Linked DNA regions of Homo sapiens: regions 1, 3 and 4 are each linked to region 2. The links are contacts of gene promoters, found by promoter capture Hi-C in human tissues and cell types (Jung and others, 2019). All regions are on one chromosome and are shown on one strand. Each heading gives the region's core, a stretch centred on a gene start or on the middle of the fragment in contact. The rest is flanking DNA. Distances are from core to core; before and after follow the strand shown.

Evidence for each region. Contacts are between HindIII fragments. The study calls those that stand out against the background at their distance.
Region 1: a fragment that was not itself captured here is called in contact with the fragment with the promoter of FGFBP3 in region 2 in 1 of the 25 tissues and cell types used here (dorsolateral prefrontal cortex).
Region 3: a contact is called between a fragment that was not itself captured here and the fragment with the promoter of FGFBP3 in region 2, in 1 of the 25 tissues and cell types used here (dorsolateral prefrontal cortex).
Region 4: a fragment that was not itself captured here is called in contact with the fragment with the promoter of FGFBP3 in region 2 in 1 of the 25 tissues and cell types used here (lymphoblastoid cells).

Annotation. Positions count from the first base shown.
Region 1 is chr10:92,440,835-92,444,102 of GRCh38, reverse strand. No RefSeq gene overlaps it. Among named protein-coding and RNA genes, the nearest start is that of IDE, 130 kb to the left of the region's middle. The HindIII fragment of the contact is 5,429 bases long and covers 1-3,268 here.
Region 2 is chr10:91,908,214-91,911,119 of GRCh38, reverse strand. FGFBP3 (fibroblast growth factor binding protein 3) reads left to right here and starts at 1,634. Exons shown (of 2, transcript NM_152429.5): 1 at 1,634-1,722; 2 at 2,073-2,906. The coding sequence starts at 2,151. FGFBP3-AS1 (FGFBP3 antisense RNA 1) reads right to left here. Exons shown (of 2, transcript NR_199602.1): 1 at 2,871-2,906; 2 at 1,772-2,223. RefSeq lists an enhancer at 1,994-2,288 and a silencer at 2,192-2,761. The HindIII fragment of the contact is 15,807 bases long and covers 1-2,906 here.
Region 3 is chr10:91,282,695-91,285,587 of GRCh38, reverse strand. PCGF5 (polycomb group ring finger 5) reads right to left here. Exons shown (of 10, transcript NM_032373.5): 10 at 1,251-2,893. Among named protein-coding and RNA genes, the nearest start is that of PCGF5, 63 kb to the right of the region's middle. RefSeq lists an enhancer at 625-1,200. The HindIII fragment of the contact is 3,612 bases long and covers 1-2,893 here.
Region 4 is chr10:90,950,885-90,954,001 of GRCh38, reverse strand. The region is part of intron 3 of XLOC_008559 (a long non-coding RNA gene); the gene reads right to left. Among named protein-coding and RNA genes, the nearest start is that of XLOC_008559, 5.1 kb to the right of the region's middle. The HindIII fragment of the contact is 3,604 bases long and covers 1-3,117 here.

The DNA.
Region 1 (3,268 bases), core at 109-2,608, 530 kb before region 2:
TTTTTATTGTTTTTAAATGTTTTCTTTTGGTTTGAGTTTTTTTACATGATTTTATTTTGTCTCCTTTGCTGGTGAAAAAAGTATTTTTTAAAAAACAAAATGAGATACCATTCCATGCAGACTGGCATAGCTAAAATTAGATGTACTGATAATGCCAAGTGAAAGCTTCTACCACATATTTAGAAAAATAGTTTTCAAAGTTTCTATTTCTGCTGTAGAGTAGACACACTTGTTCTTTTTCCTTTTTTTTTTTGGCGGGGGTACGGAGTCTCACTCTGTCGCCCAGGCTGGAGTGCAGTGGTGCGATCTCGGCTCACTGCAAGCTCTGCCTCCCGGGTTCACGCCATTCTCCTGCCTCCGCCTCCCGAGTAGCTGAGACTACAGGCGCCCGCCACCACGCACGGCTAATTTTTTTTGTATTTTTAGTAGAGACGGCGTTTCATCGTGTTAGCCAGGATGGTCTCGATCTCCTGACCTCGTGATCCGCCCGTCTCGGCCTCCCAAAGTGCTGGGATTTCAGGCATGAGCCACCGCGCCCAGCCTCTTTCCTTTTCTTTCTGTTTTTTTTTGTATTTTTTAGAGCTGGGGTCTCATTCCAGGCTGGAGTGCAGTAGCACCATCGTAGCTCATTGACAGCCTCGGACTCCCAGGCTCAGGCAATCCCCCTGCCTCAGCCTCCGAGTAGCTGGGACTACAGGTGCACGCCACCACACCTGGCTAATTTTTTAATTTTTTGTGGAGACAGGAATATCGCCATTTTGCCCAGGCTGGTCTCAAACTCTCCTGGGCTCAAGCAATCGTCCCTCCCTGGCCTCCCAAAGTGCTGGGATTACATGCATGAGTCACAGTGCCCAGCCACACTTGTTCTTTATTGTAGCAAAAGATATTTTGGGAAGTGTTTCAGAGGAATCTTTCCACAACTATAAGGTAGGGTGAGTTAGAAATATAAAATTACCCCGGGTTCATTGGCTGCCGCCTGTAATCCTAGCACTTTGGGAGGCCAAGGCAGGCAGATCACCTGAGGTCAGGAGTTCGAGACCAGCCTGGCCAACATGGTGAAACCCCGTCTCTACTAAAAATACAAAAGTTAGCCAGGCATGGTGGTGTGCGCCTGTAGTCCCAACTACTCGGGAGGCTGAGACAGGAGAATTGCTTGAATCTGGGAGGCGGCTGTTGCAGTGAGCCAAGATTGCACCACTGCACTCCAGCCTGAGCGACAGAGTGAGACTCCGTCTCAAGAAAAAAAAATTAAGATGTAATTATGAGAACACTGCTTCTGTCTCCTAGTCTTTGTGGGAGGATAGAATCCTAACTTCCATAATTGCCGGCTTGGTGTGGCCGGGCATGGTGGCTTATGCCTGTAATCCCAGCACTTTGGGAGGCCAAGGCGGAGGGGATTGCTTGAGCTCAGGAGTTCAAGACCAGCCTGGGCAACGTGGCAAGACCCTGTCTCTACTAAAAATACAAAAAATTAGCCAGACAATCCTCCCACCTCAGCCTCCAGCTACTCAGAAGGCTGAGGTGGGAAGATCACTTGAGCCTAGGGGTACAGTGAGCCAAGATCATGCCACTATACTCCAGCCTGGGTGACAGAGTGACACACTGTCTCAAAACAAACAAAAAACATAATTCCCAGCTTGCAGACACAGTCTATTCACATTTACACCGACCAACCCTTTGTAATGTTTCACTTGCGTTCCCTGTCGCTCCCCCTTCCTACACCCTCATTCTCCCTTTAAAACACCCAGGCACCTTGTATAAATTAGAATGGAGTTCAGCTGTTTCCACTACTGTCAATAGTTACTGAATAACATCAGTTGTCACCACTTCAATTAAAGTCCAGCTTTGTTTATCTTTGATAGCCTGGGTTAAATTTATAGGAGGCCATTATTTTGGACTGAGCTCCTACACTAAGCCCCAGCAGACCAAACCAAAATGGAATCACTCATGCTAAAGTGCCAGACAATCAAATTGAAACTTTTTTTTTTTTTTGAGACGGAGTTTCGCTCTTGTTGCCGCAATCTCGGCTCACAGCAACCTCTGCCTCCCGGGTTCAAGCGATTCTCCTGCCTCAGCCTCCCAAGTAGCTGGGATTACAGGCATGAATCACCACACCTGGCTAATTTTATATTTTTAGTAGAGACGGGGTTTCTCCACGTTAGTCAGGCTGGTCTCAAACTCCCGACCTCAGGTGATCCGCTTGCCTCGGCCTCCCAAAGTGTTGGGATTACAGGCGTGAGCCACCACACCCAACCTAAACTTTTTTCTTTTTTTTTTTTTTTTTGAGACAGAATCTCTCTCTGTCACCCGGGCTGGAGTGCAGTGGTGCAATCTCAACTTGCTGCAGCCTCTGTCTCCCGGATTCAAGCAATTCTCCTGCCTCAGCCTCCCAAATAGCTGGGACTACAGGTGTGCACCACCACACCCAGCTAATTTTTTGTATTTTTAGTAGAGATGGGGTTTTGCCTTGTTGCCCAGGCTGGTCTCAAACTCCTGAGCTCAGGCAATCTGCCCACCTCAGCCTCTCAAAAGTGCTAGGATTACAGGGGTAAGCCACCACGCCCAGCCTCCAACTGAAACTTTAAGGAAGCAGGAAAACCCCAAGTAGACCATTTTTCCTAAAAACATGTGATTGCAGCAACCAATCAGAAGGAGCCCAGTCAGGCCGGGCACGGTGGCTAACACCTGTAATCCCAGCCCTTTGGGAGGCCAAGTGAGCGGATCACCTGAGGTCAGGAGTTTGAGACCAGCCTGACCAACATGGTGAAACACTGTCTCTACTAAAAATACAAAAATTAGCCAGGCGTGGTGGCGGGCGCCTGTGATCCCAACTACTCAGGTGGCTGAGGCAGGAGAATCGCTTGAACCCAGGAGGCAGAGGTTGCAGTGAGCTGAGATTGTGCCACTGCACTCCAGCCTGGGAGACAGAGCGAGACTCTGTCTAAAAAAAAAGAAAACAAACTATAGGCCAGGTGCAATGGCTCATGTCTGTAATCCCAGCACTCTGGGAGGCCGAGGTGGGCAGATCACCTGAGGTCAGGAGTTCAAGACCAGCCTGGCCAACATGGTAAAACTCTGTCTCTACTAAAAATACAAAAATCAGCCAGGCATGGTGGTGCATGCCTGTAATCCCAGCTACTCCAGAGGCTGAGAGAGGAGAATCACCTGAACCCAGGGGTAGAGGCTGCAGTGAGCCGAGATCACACCACTGCACTCCAGCCTGGGCAACAAACAGAGCGAGACTCCATCAGAAAAAAGACAAAAAAAG
Region 2 (2,906 bases), core at 385-2,884:
TTTTCGTTTAAAGAAAAAAATGCCATGAAACATTTGAACTGATGAGCCACAGAACTTCAGTTGAAATTTTTTTCACTTTTTAGCATGCTAAATATACATCTCAGTTTAAATATTCTGTTTAATGGCCATTTATAAATTCAAGCACTACCACTGGTCAGTTTTGTGTGATAGAATAAAAATATGTTACCTGCAGTGTAAGTATAGCACACTGTCAAATTCTTTTCCTTAAGGTGCACAGTAAATGTACAGATAGTTATAGGCCACTGTTTTTGCAATGTAGTACATTTCTAATCTATTATTCCTAACCTATTATAACTGTTTGCAGAGAGAAAATAATTGAATTTTTCTAATAATCTGTAAAATTATGCTAACTTCTACAAGTAGGCTTCTAAATAAAAATTTTAAAAAGAGCAAAAAAAAAAAAAAAGAAAGAAAAAACAGCTTTGCTTGGTCAGCACTTTGAGAGGCTGAGGCAGGTGGCTCATCTCAGGTCAGGAGTTCGATACCAGACTGGGCAACATGGTGAAACCCCTTCTCCACTAAAAATTAGCTGGGTGTTGTGGCAGGCACCTGTAATTCCAGCTACTGGGGAGGCTGAGGCAGGTGAATCGCTTGAACCGGGAAGGCAGAGGTTGCAGTGAGCCGAGATAGCACCACTGCGCTCCAGCCTGGGTGACAGAGTGAGCTCCCGTCTCAAAACAAACAAACAAACAAACAAACAAACAAACCCCCGCACACACACACAATCCCCCCCTCCAGAAAAAGCAGCTTTGCTTAAATGTAACATTTTCAAGATTCAAGAACACATTCATTCTCTCTCTCTTTTTTTTTTTTTTTGAGAGGCAGTCTCGCCCTGTCCCGGGTTCAAGTGATTCTCCTGCCTCAGCCTCCTGAGTAGCTGGGATTACAGGCATCTGCCACCACGCCTGGCTAATTTTTGTATTTTTAGTAGAGACGGGATTTCACCAGGCCAGGCTGGTCTCACATTCTTAACTATTATACCATTTCAATTGGTAATCTTACCGTTCAACTACTATAATACAAATAATTTTTTTAAACTTCTAATTTTTGGAGGACCCTTATAACTGATTTCTAATACCTAAAAATAATAAAAAGCCCAAATGTCCACTCCTGGGTGAACTGCTGGGCACTATTGTATGTTAATAAACTAGGATATTATATTTTTATTAGTAGTAACAATTATTAAGATTGAGAGTCTTAAGAAAGGCTATTGGAAATAATAGGTAAAAATGTAGAACTCAGAATATGAGAAATAGAATGTAAATGATATAATTGTGTAAAAAATGCCTAGTTTAGAATACTGAAGTTTGTTTTGTTTCATTTTATTTAACTTTTAAAACTTAGATCTTTTGTTTAATTTTTATTTTTTGGATGGTTAAGTACATGAAAGAAGAAAAACTTGGTTAATTTTGCCTGATTATTTTAAACATTGGAAGCAAAATACAAGATTTGTATTTCATACTACAGGACCGCTTCCATCATCCATCTGGAGAGACAGAGAGAGAGAGGGAGAGAGAGAGAGAAGCGCGGCGGTGATAAGTCTCCCAGTGTGAGAGAAATCGGGGAGGGGCGAAGAAGGGTAGGCCTCTTCTGTTCCATTGATACCACGTTCATTCACAGGGAGCCGGCTAAAACAGACTACTCCCCCGTGCAGTCGTTCCCTCTACCCTAATAAGGCTTTGGCGCCTCTCCCAGAACTCGGTAAGTTCAAAGTGTAGTAAAGTGCATGTTTCCAAGGAATCATCTGAAATGATTTTGTAGATAGTTTATTGCAGGTTGGAGAAGGGAGAAAATGAAGGAAGGGGTAGAGGGGGCAATTATCACGCATCGTTTTGCTATCGTATTTGCAAGGGGAAGAAAATCTCAATGCATACATGGTTCGAAAGTGATTATTTAGACAGTAAGCAGTTTCCCCAGGAAAGCTCCTCAGAGGGTCTCCTCGCAGGCTGCAGATTCTAGAAAGTCTGCGGAAGAGTAGTTCGCAGGTGCATGTGTCTGGGCGAAGCGCTGCGTGTGGCTCAGTTGGTGGCAGTCTCTGCCTCTGTCCGCAGGTCCTGGGGAATGCTCTTTGCCTGGTCCAGCCCCGACAAACGTGGTCTGAGAACAGCGGAGCGCGGAAACCGCGGAGCATGACTCCTCCGAAGCTGCGAGCGTCGCTGTCGCCGTCGCTGCTGCTGCTGCTGAGTGGTTGCCTCCTCGCGGCTGCTCGGAGGGAGAAAGGGGCGGCTAGCAACGTGGCGGAGCCGGTCCCCGGGCCCACTGGCGGCTCCTCGGGTCGCTTCCTCAGCCCCGAGCAGCACGCGTGCAGCTGGCAGCTCCTGCTGCCCGCCCCGGAGGCCGCAGCGGGCAGCGAGCTGGCGCTGCGCTGCCAGAGCCCGGACGGGGCGCGCCACCAGTGCGCCTACCGCGGGCATCCGGAGCGCTGCGCAGCCTACGCCGCTCGCCGCGCGCACTTCTGGAAGCAGGTGCTGGGAGGGCTGCGCAAGAAGCGGAGGCCCTGTCACGACCCCGCGCCGCTCCAGGCCCGCTTGTGCGCGGGCAAGAAGGGCCACGGCGCCGAGCTGCGGCTAGTGCCCCGCGCGTCCCCGCCCGCACGCCCCACCGTCGCGGGATTCGCGGGGGAGTCCAAGCCCCGGGCCCGGAACCGGGGGCGGACCCGGGAGCGTGCGTCCGGCCCAGCCGCTGGGACCCCGCCTCCCCAAAGCGCACCGCCCAAAGAAAACCCCTCAGAGAGGAAGACCAACGAGGGCAAGAGGAAGGCGGCCTTGGTCCCCAACGAGGAGCGACCCATGGGGACCGGGCCCGACCCCGACGGGCTGGACGGGAACGCGGAGCTCACGGAGACCTACTGCGCTGAGAAGTGGCACTCCCTCTGCAACTTCTTT
Region 3 (2,893 bases), core at 133-2,632, 630 kb after region 2:
CAGGGCTTCCTAAGAGGATCAAAAGTTCTTTGCAGGAACAGGTCTTTTTAGGGAGGAGAGGCTTTTGTAGTGGAGGTGCTTCCTGAGGAGCAGTTGGGCTTTGAAGAGGGAGCAGGTTCTGTAGGGATGAGTGGGGCTTTGTAAGGAGGAGCAGGGCTTCTTAGAAGGAGAACTGTGTAAGGAAGGCTGGGCTCTGTAAAGAGGAACAGGGCTTTGCTGGTTTCTACTGGTAGTGATCGCTGCATATTTGTCCTCTCCAGGCATTATTCTCTATTTGATTGCTAGTGGCAAATCCTGGCACTGCAAAGTCCACGGCAAGGGTTGGGGTGCCAAGTGGGGTTGTACATGGCTTCCAGCAAAATACTACCTGCATGTTCCCCAGCCACACGAAGAGCAGAGTGACTCCCAAGCTTCTCATGCCTGGCCTGAGTGCAAGACCCCTCTTTCCCTTTCCAAACCAGTGAAAAGATAAGTGCTGAGCCTGTGTGGACAACACACTTCTAAGACCTAAAGCAACTGTGACCTCTTTTTGCAAATGTAGGGTATGGCAGACATTAGCAGGTCACAAAACTTTCCTCTTCCTCCTTGGGATGTGGCTTCACTAGGTCCTCCGGCCTTGCTTGCTGTTAGGTGAGGCCATGTGCTGGCCAGTGACATGTGATGAAAGCAATGTGTGCTACATGTTCCAGCACTTCCCATGCACAGTCCTCCACATTCTTTCCCATTCTGCAGCAGCCTTGAAGAGAGTGGAGCTCAAATACAGAAGGAAGCCAAATTCTGCTCAGAGGAAAGCTGCTTTCCCTATCTCACCGAAGGACTGGGGTTTCTAGCTACCTCCAACGTTTCACTAACATTAAGACAAAGCTTCAGGCATCAAAATCACAATGGGGCCGAGCTAGAAACCATCACAGTGTTCCTGACGTAAATGTCTTGCTTTGGCCTAATGAATTCCTGAGGCAAGTGCACATGGAAAGTATTAATAAACAAAGCTTAGCTATCTAACTGGCTGAAGGAAACAGTCTTTCTTTCAATTCACTTGGGCCTGCCTTTGATTCCTAATTACTTTCAAAACGTTCTTTTGGATTTGATTAATCTAACAAAACAAAAAATCCTTCAAGGGTGTGTGTGTATACACCTTAACTAGTATTTGAGGGACAGTGTGCCATTTTAAAATAAACAGCTGAAGAATCCTTAGAAAATATTTATGATCTCAAATACTCAATAAATTTCAATAAAATTTGCTACAGGACTAGTACTTAAAGGAGATATTTTTAATGAAGGCTGCAATCTACAGTGACTAATATTAAAGATGACAAACAATAATAAATTATGCAATTTAATTTTTAATAACAAAGATACTGTATTTTAACATGGTGAAATATACTTGGCTAAGTCCAGATTAAAAAAAAAAAGTATCTAGCCCAACAGTACAATTATACAGCTTTGTACAGAACATTCCATAGATCAACAGAAAATACATTTGAGCACAAAAATAAAAAATATTTAAGGAGAATCTCTAAGCAGCATTTTATTTCTGCAAAAGACATATCTTGTACTGATTAAATATCTACAAGTGCTTTTCCTTTACAAAAATACATATATTCTTAATAGACTAAGTCATTAACAATGACCTGGTAATTCTTTCACTTCAATTTGAATGATTTATAAGCTAAATCTTACAACCACAAAAAGGTTTTTATTTGTATTAAGATGTTACCACTTTTGACAAAAAGCTTAAAATATTTTATATTTCAAAGGAAAATTAGCAACATAACTTTACAATATATTCTATGATATTTTGATTGTGAGGGCTACTCTATTTAAAACTGATGATCTCTGTTGTGTTGCTCAGATGCAGGAAAGCAGCAGAACCCTGGTACTCCCCCAACAAGCTCCTGTCGTGGACCACAGCTTCATAAGGACACTTAGGCCCCCACCCCCATTCTAAAAAATACAACAAAAGAACACCAAACAATGCTAGGCTGATCCCATTACATTTTTAATGTGTAGAACTCCTGCTCCAGTGGACTGATGTGCAGAGGATGGATAAATAAATTTGTTGACTATCTCTCCATCACCCAGAAATATTTAATCTTCATTTGCACTAGATTAGTTTCTTATTCCATGAAGCTCCATAAGATGGAAGAAAACTAGACTCAGTATTTAACATATCTGTTTCACTTGATTCTAGATTTAAAATTATTAAAGTTAAAAATCTCTGAAAAATCAGTCTCAGTTTGGAATTATAGAAAAAGGGGCATAGCAAGTATACAGACACATTTGAATGAGCATTTAAAATAATTATTTTTAATTTTATAACTTTCTGAAAGGAAGTGCTCGAGCATTTTAATTTTATTTGAAAATATAAAGAAAGCAAGTAAACATTATTTATGAAAACTGTATTATACTAGGAAGAGAATTACTTAAATTATTGGAAAAACATCACTGCAATAAAAACTATTGAACACTGTATTGTACATTTAAGTACATTTGAATGAACTTTCAGTCTGATATTTTCTGTCAAAATGCTACTCAACTAGGTTTGTCAGGTAAATCCAGAACAGTTATTGTGTGCCTTGAAAGGGTTTGAGTCTCTGGTGTATTTAATATTTTTCACTTTTTCATAAACCAGATCTAGCAGACATGTTCCTTATTTCTACCCAAACTGTAGGAATATATATTACAAAATATTGATAATTGCATTTCAAGTTTTGTGTTTCTAATCCAGAAAATTAAAGTTATGGCAAACTCATTCATTTTTGAAGTTCCTACTACCAACCAATATCTTATTAGTATAAAGCTTAGCTTTCTGGAAAATTCCTTATGATAAACCAGAGTATGTAATAGAGTGTGCATCCATTTTCACCCTATCCAAGGAGTTTTACCTAGTGAC
Region 4 (3,117 bases), core at 74-2,573, 960 kb after region 2:
TGAAAGGGAACAAAGAAAGCCTCCAAGAAATATGGGACTATGTGAAAAGACCAAATCTACATTTGATTGGTGTACCTGAAAGTGACGAGGAGAATGGAACCAAGTGGGAAAACACTCTTCAGGATATTATCCAGGAGAACTTTCCCAACCTAGCAAGACAGGCCAACATTCAAATTCAGGAAATACAGAGAACACCACAAAGACACTCTGCAAGAAGAGCAACCCCAAGACATATAATCTTCAGATTCACTAAGGTTGAAATGAAGGAAAAAATGTTAAGGGCAGCCAGAGAGAAAGGTCGGGTTACCCACAAAGGGTAGCCCATCAGACTAACAGCAGATCTCTCTGCAGAAACTCTACAAGCCAGAAGAGAGTGAGGGCCAATATTCAACATTCTTGAAAAGAATTTTCAACCCAGAATTTCATATCCAGCCAAACTACACTTCATAAACGAAGGAGAAATAAAATTCTTTACAGACAAGCAAACGCTGAGGGATTTTTTCACCACCAGGCCTGCCTTACAAGAGCTCCTGAAGGAAGCATTAAATATGGAAAGGAAAACCTATTACTAGCCACTGCAAAAACATACCAAATTGTAAAGACCATCAACACTGTGAATAAACCGCATCAATTAATGGGCAAAATAACCAGCTAGCATCATAATGAAAGGATCAAATTCACACATAACATTAACCTTAAATGTAAACGGGCTAAATGCCCCCAATTAAACGACACAGACTGGCAAATTGGATAGAGTCAAGACCCTTCGGTGTGCTGTATTCAGGAGACCCATCTCACGTGCAAAGACACACATACACTCAAAATACAGAGAAGAAGGAATATTTACCAAGCAAATGCAAAGCCAAAAAAAAAAAAAAAAAAAAAAAAACAAGGGGTTGCAATCCTAGTCTCTGATAAAACAGGCTTTAAACCAACAAAGATCAAAAAATACAACAAAGGGCATTACAATGCAACAAGAAGAGCTAACTATCCTAAATATATATGCACCCAATACAGGAGCATCTGGATTCATAAGGCAAGTTCTTAGGGACCTACAAAGGGACTTAGACTCCCACACAATAATATTGGGAGACTTCAACACCCCACTGTCAATATTTGACAGATCAACAAGACAGAAAATTAACAAAGATATTCAAGACTTGAACTCAGCTCTGGACCAAGCAGACCTAATAGACATCTACAGAGCTCTCCACCCAAAATCAACAGAATATACATTCTTCTCAGCACCACATCACACTTATTCTAAAATTGACCACATAATTGGAAGTAAAACACGCCTCAGCAAATGCAAAAGAATGGAAATAATAACAAACAGTCTCTCAGACCACAGTGTAATCCAATTAGAACTCAGGATTAAGAAACCCAGTCAAAACTGCACAACTACATGGAAACTGAACAACCTGCTCCTGAATGACTACTAGGTAAATAACGAAATTAAGGCAGAAATAAATTAGTTTTTTGAAACCAATGAGAACAAAGACACAACGTACCAGAATCTCTGGGACACAGCTAAAGCAGTGTTTAGAGGGAAATTTGTAGCACTAAATGCCCACAGGAGAAAGTGGGAAAGATCTAAAATTGACACTCTAACATCACAATTAAAAGAACTAGATAAGCAAGAGCAAATAAATTCAAAAGCTAGCAGGAAACAAGAAATAACTAAGATCAGAGCAGAACTGAAGGAAACAGAGACACAAAAAACACTTCAAAAATTCAATGAATCCAGGAGCTGGTTTTTTGAAAAGATTAACAAAATAGACCACTAGCCAGACTAATAAGAAAAAAGAGAAGAATCAAATAGACACAATAAAAAATGATAAAGAGGGTATTACTACTGATCCAACAGAAATACAAATTACCATCAGAGAATATTATAAATGCCTCTATGCAAATAAGCTAGAAAATCTAGAAGAAATGGATAAATTTCTAGATACATACACCCTCCTAAGACTAAACCAGGAAGAAGTGGAATCCCTGAATAGACCAATAACAAGTTCTGAAATTGAGGCAGTAATTAATAGCCTACCAACCAAAAAAAGCCCAGGACCAGAGGGACTCACACCCGACTTCTACCAGCAGTACAAAGAGGAGCCGGTATCATTCCTTCTGAAACTATTCCAAATGATAGAAAAAGAAGGGCTCCTCCCTAATTCATTTTATGAGGCCAGCATCATGATACCAAAACCTGGCAGAGACACACACAAAAAAGAACATTTCAGGCCAATATCCCTGATGAACATTGATGCAAAAATCCTCCATAAAATACTGGCAAACTGAATCCAGCAGCAAATCAAAAAGCTTATCCACCACAATCAAGTTGGCTTCATTCCTAGGATGCAAGGCTGGTTCAACATATGCATATCAATAAACATAATCCATCACATAAACAGAACCAATGACAAAAACCACATGATTATTTCAATAGATGCAGAAAAGGCCTTCGATAAAATTCATCACCCCTTCATGCTAACAACTCTCAATAAACTAAGTTTTGATGGAACGTACCTCAAAATAGTAAGAGCTATTTATGACAAACCCACAGGCAATATCATACTTAATGGGCAAAAGCTGGAAGCATTCCCTTTGAAAACCAGCACAAGACAGGGATACCCTCTCTCACCACTCCTATTCAACACAATGTTGGAAGTTCTGGCCAGGGCAATTAGGCAAGAGAAAGAAATGAAGTGTATTCCAATAGGAAGAGAGGAAGTCAAATTGTCTCTGTTTGCAGATGACATGATTGTATATTTAGAAAACCCTGTCATCTCAGCCCAAAATCTTCTTAAACTGATAAGCAACTTCAGCAAAGTCTTAGGATATAAAATCAATGTGCAAAAATCACATGCATTCCTATACACCAATAATAGACAGAGAGTCAAATTATGAGTAAACTCCCATTCACAATTGCTACAAGAGAATAAAATACCTAAGAGTACAACTTATAGGGGATGTGAAGAACGTCTTCAAGGAGAACTACAAACCACTGCTCAAGGAAATAAGAGAGGACACAAATAAATGGAAAAATATTCCATGTTCATGGATAGGAAGAATCAACATTGTAAAAATGGCCATACTTCCCAAAGTAATTTATAGATT